Regions from separate parts of the Homo sapiens genome. Here region 2 is linked to region 1. The links are contacts of gene promoters, found by promoter capture Hi-C in blood cells and fetal thymus (Javierre and others, 2016). All regions are on one chromosome and are shown on one strand. The core of a region is centred on a gene start or on the middle of the fragment in contact, and the rest is flanking DNA. Distances in the headings are between cores, read along the strand shown. Region 1 holds the start of GBP6 (guanylate binding protein family member 6). Region 2 has its middle 64 kb from the start of GBP6.

Region 1 (2,700 bases), core at 129-2,628:
GGGACTACAGGTGCCCGCCACCACACCCGGCTAATTTTTTTGTATTTCTAGTAGAGAGAGACAGGGTTTCCCCCTGTTAGCCAGGATGGTCTTGATCTCCTGACCTCGTGATCCGCCCGCCTCGGCCTCCCAAAGTGCTGGGATTACAGGAGTGAGCCACCGCACCTGGCCCAGAATTTTACATTTTTAACACAAGTCTTTGTCTGAATAGAGTATTCAGATTAGTCTACCACACTCCCCAAATCCTCAGCCTAAGTTATTGCCAAAACTCATGTCTGCTCATTCTGCCACTTGCTTCTGTTCTCAAATCCATTTAGCAGTGCAGCCATGGTAGACAGTCCCAGCATGCTGCTATGTCCTCTGTAGAGAGTCTTTCTCCTTTTCTCACTCAGATGTTTCTCCAAGCTGTGAAAGGGTGTCTATTTTGCCCAAGGGCAGCTTGTGAATTCAAAATAGTTAAAGTCCCTGGGGATAAGACTCAACCAATGGAAACTGTGGGTTGTTGGATAAATAGTCCACATCAAGGGTCCCAAACCCCCAGAGCATGGTCTGTTAGAAACTGGGCCACACAGGAGGTGAGTAGGGAGAGAGCACTAAGGCCTGAGACCTGCCTCCTGTCAGATCAGCAGCAGCATTAGATTCTCATAGGAGCTTGTACACTGTTATGCACTGCACATTCCACCTTCTATGTCCATGTATGCAGATTTTTTAGCTTCCACTTATGAGTAAGAATGTGGTATTTGACTTTCGGTTTCTGAGTTGTTTCACCTAAGATAATGAACTCCAGTTCCATCCATGTTGCTGTAAAAGACATGGTTCATTCTTTTTTTAAACCAGTAATATCTTTAGCTCTCTCTCTTTCTCTCTCTCTCTTCTGTGTGTGTGTGTGCATGTGTGAACACATTTAAAATATCAAAAGTTCTTCACTAACAAAAGACCCCAGAACTCAAGAATTCCCACTAAGAGAAAAATGCTTAAAATATTCTTGGTTTCTAAGGCTTTGCTTATGTGACTACTGTAGATTTCCTGTTTTTCTTGTGTGCCTAGGAAACTAAAGCCACCTGGGAACGGTATCAAGAAGAAAGCCTGTGAAGCCTTCTAAGATGGGAAAGACAAAAGAAAGCTGGCAGGATTGTGCTTGCTAAGGTGTGACTGTGCAGTATCTGTGGCTTTTTCTGACCTCCTCCCACCCCTGCACCCAACACCCATCCTCAAACTCACATCGGATGATTCAGGCATGGCTCTGCTAACACTTTATTAAAAGCATGGATTAATTTTACTTCCAAGTTTATTTTTACTGCACCATCCCATTTGTGGAAACAACTAGCTTACTCAGCTTTTTTTTCCTTTTATAAAGGAAAGAACAGAAAAGTAAAAGGAGGAAAGAAAACAAGAGGTGAGTGAGGCAACTGAAAACTGTTCTTGGACCTGCGGTGCTATAGAGCAGGTATGTTCACTTTCTTTTAAATGCAACTTAGTTCCTAACTCAAGACTTGGTTTCTGATTCAGAGTGGTAACTGAGGAATGGGCAGGAAGGGCAGGGTGCCTGCTGCCTGGCCTGCAGGAGTCTGTGGCTGGCTTTAGTTCTGGGGAAGCTCAGCTTCTCCACTTGAACCAGTGACAGCCGGGCACGCCGCGTCCCCCTGGATGTGCTGTTCCCTGATCATCAACTCAGGACAGCAGTGAGTGGCCTGGAATGAGCCCTGGTGGGCGCCTGCCTGGCTATCTCTCTCAGGTCCTGCGGCAAGCCCCAGAATGCAGAGAACAAGGAGCTTCCAGGCAATTATACCGGAAGGGAGAGTTTCTTGTCTATCTTTCTAGTGGTCACACTTAGGAAAGCTTCAGAATAAGAGCTCTATAAATCTCTATGTAGAAATAAACTTAGGCCCCACATCACTGGTCTTTATTACTTAAAAATAATTATATAGTCCAAACTCTGTGTGTGCGTGTGTGTGTGTGTGTGTGTATGTGTGTGTGGGGAGGGGGTGGGGGAGGAGGGGGGTGTTAGTTTCCCATAGGAACATCAGAGTCTCTTGTAGCTCTTGCTAAACAGATGGATACTTAGGCCTGGGAATCTGGGTTTGAACAATCCTCTCAGTTGATTCTTTAAAAAAAAAAAAGATGAAGAATAGACACTATGTTTAAAATAAAAAAGATTTTTTTAAAAACCACCATGTCCCATGGTGGTTTGCTGCACCTATCAATCCGTCATCTAGGTTTTAAGCCCCGCATGCATTAGGTATTTGTCCTAATGCTCTCCCTCCCCTTGCCCTCCACCCACTGACAGGCCCCAGTGTGTGAGTTTCCCACCCCCACCCCCAGCGCCAACCCCCCGCCGCCCGTGTCCACATGTTCTCATTGTTCAACTCCCACTTACCAGTTAGAACACGCAGTTTTTGGTTTTCTGTTCCTGTGTTAGTTTGCTGAGAATGGGATCTAATTAAAGAGCTTCTGCACAGCAAAAGAAACTATCATCAGAGTGATCAGGTGATTCTTATGTACATCAGAGTGTGAAAACCAGTCCTGAATAGGATTGAACAGCTGTATTTCATTTAGTAGAAGTTAAAAGGTCTGTGGTTCCCACACAGCTAAGAAACCAGAGACCTGGTTTATATAAAGTTGTTTGCAGGAGCAGCCACATCTTCCTAGAGCTGCCTTTATTGTTCACTTTAAAGAAGGGACTGTACAGTTGCAGTCACT
Region 2 (2,700 bases), core at 22-2,521, 63 kb after region 1:
AACCAAGGACATGTACCATAAACTAAAGACCAGAGCCTTCCTGTCACCCCTACCCAAGGCATAATTGAAACAATTTTAGAATTTGGAACAAGCGACACTACATTTGATAATAATTAGATCTTGCATCATAACACCAAAATTTATAAAGGCATGCAGTACAATGATCAAAATCATGTTTTTTCCAAAAAAAAAAAGACTGTAAATTGTGCAAAAAAGATGCATTTACCTCTGTACCAACTCAGGAAGGTTCATGAGCTGGTACCACCCAGGAGTTTATTCTTCCAGATGACCAGCAGTAGACAAATGGGTACTGAGCAGAGTCTTAGGTAAAAGTCTTGGGAAATATTTGGGCATTGGTCTGGCCAAGTCTACAATGTCCCAATATCAAGGACAACCACCCTGGCTTCTTAGTGAAGACAATGTACAGTTATCCATTAGATCAGGGCTACACAGTCTATGAGCAATAATGTGATTTGTGGACATTGCCCATGTATTGTCCTCACTGATGATTTCAAGCTAAAGCAAACCACCTTATACAGAGATCTAGAATCCCTTTATGTTCTCCAGAGGTAGGTGGAAGAAACCATGAGCAGGAGCAGGAATTGAGTGATAAACAAATGGGCTAAAGAAGAAAACTTTTCTTCTTGTTCAGTTCATCCAGATTATAACTTTAATGGGACACTTTAGACCATTAGACAGTTGACACTGGATTAAACAAAGTCACATAATGCCAATTACACACTGTATTTATGGCAATGTATAATTTGCAAAGATTGACTTTAAAAGATGCTGTGTAACAGAATTGAATTAATTCAATTACTTATTATTTAGAATGCTAAAGCTTATGCTAGTCTTTTCTAATTCTTAACACTCATACTTGAAATCTTGCTGAGTTTCCCCAGAAGAGAATATCGGATGTTTTTTGACATTTTTGACCCATTTAATAATGTTCTTGTGTTTACTTAGTATACATAGACTTTATCTCATGTGTCAAAAGTCCTAGGAAAGTGGTTGATGTTTCTTATAGCAATTAAAAATTATTTCTGAACTGTAAATACAATGTATTTCACTAGGCTTCTTATTTCTGATTAAGTTTTCTTTTTGCAGTTATTTTTGTCAGAAAAGAAGGTTTTAGTCTTTATAGCAATGGTTGGCAATCTTTTCTGAAAATACCAGATAGTAACTATTTATGACTTCGCAGGTCATACAGTCTGTCTCAAGTACTCAGCTCTGCATGTAGTGCAAATGCAGCCATAGAAAATACATAAACCAATAGGTGTGGCTATGTTCCAATCAATTTTTATTTTCAATAACAGGGTGGCACCCATAAGCCATAGTTTGCAGAACTCTGATTTACAGACACATTGGTCAAAGTTTTATATACCGGCCTTGTGTAACTCACACGTACAAAAATCATATGGATTAGATTATATATATTAGAATCTTGAAAAAACTATGTGGTTATTCAAAATAACACAGTGAGAAAAAAGGAGGGAAGCAGTTAATGCCATTAAATCCACATTAATAATTCTGTCTTTTCTAATTGCTTTGAGGCCTTTTATTACCTTGAGCTACCTCTGATCCAATCACATGGCAAATGCCTCCTTTCATAATAGAGCATGGTGCTGTTTCCTCACTTGAACTGAAACTTCATAGAAGACCAGGTGAGACCACAGAATACTAGATGAAATGTTCATGTAGGTAAGCTTTATATTTTCTTCCAAGCTCCATTGCTACAAAGGTGTAAATAAAATACATTTTTATGAGTTGAAGTAACTTCATGGTAGAAAATAATAACTCTGCCTTCAAAAGCAAATAATGGTTTCTTTGTTAACCAATAAAGCATAAGAAAATGAAAAATCAGCAAAACTGAGTTACTTCCTCCCCAGTTTGGTAGCATTAATATTTAGACCACATTCCAAAGCATCTGACTTGGTTTAGTACTTTTCTCTAGCATATGCCAGAATAGAATCAAGCTCTCTCCAGGGAGGCATGTTGCTTTCCTGCCCTTAGACCCTCCAATGGTGTGCAAGTGTGCAGGCTATGGTGAGTGGGGCCAGGAAATCACCAGGCCCCTGGATGGCATGCTTGGGTCCCAGTGGCAGGTGACCTGGGCCTGCTGTCAGACTTCCTGATGTTGCATGCACATGCCCACAGCTACAGTTGAGGCAGCATGATCCCCAGGCCCTGGGCAGCATGTTTGCATGGTGGGTGGTGTGAGAGCCTGTCCTCAGGACACAGAACAGTGTCTGGGTAGACCAGCTCCAGGACCATTGGAGGCACATGCAGATGCTTGGTGGCCCTGCTTCCGGTGGAAGGTTGAGAGGGTTGCTGTTGGTGGCAGTGGCCCCAGGCAAGTGGCTTTCAGAAACTGAGGAGTGTGCATTTAGGCTCCCTTTGTCCTGGGGGCAGCCTCCCTGGTGTGGTGCACTGCTGTTCCTTACTGCACCACTGGATTCAGCCCACGGGACAAAGTTGCAGCCCTCTGGGTGGAAATGAAGAGATGTCCGCAGGGTTCCAGGGACGTGGAGATGATGGGGCTGTTCGCCCCAGAGCAAGATACAGTCTGATGGGGGCTGGGCTTTCAAAATAGTGCTGCACGGCAGCTCCTTGAGTCTTGGGAGTGTCAGTTACCTAAACCAATGCAGGCCGTTTGCCTGATTGCAATGGAAAGCCAAACAAGGAAGCACAAGGATTTTT

The links. Contacts are between HindIII fragments. The CHiCAGO score rates a contact against its expected background, and 5 or more counts as called.
Region 2: a contact is called between a fragment that was not itself captured here and the fragment with the promoter of GBP6 in region 1, in 1 of 17 cell types (activated CD4 T cells). The highest score is 5.4, in activated CD4 T cells.

The regions. Positions count from the first base shown.
Region 1 is chr1:89,362,681-89,365,380 of GRCh38, forward strand. GBP6 (guanylate binding protein family member 6) reads left to right here and starts at 1,379. Exons shown (of 11, transcript NM_198460.3): 1 at 1,379-1,447. The HindIII fragment of the contact is 2,752 bases long and covers 1-1,837 here.
Region 2 is chr1:89,426,218-89,428,917 of GRCh38, forward strand. No RefSeq gene overlaps it. Among named protein-coding and RNA genes, the nearest start is that of GBP6, 64 kb to the left of the region's middle. The HindIII fragment of the contact is 865 bases long and covers 840-1,704 here.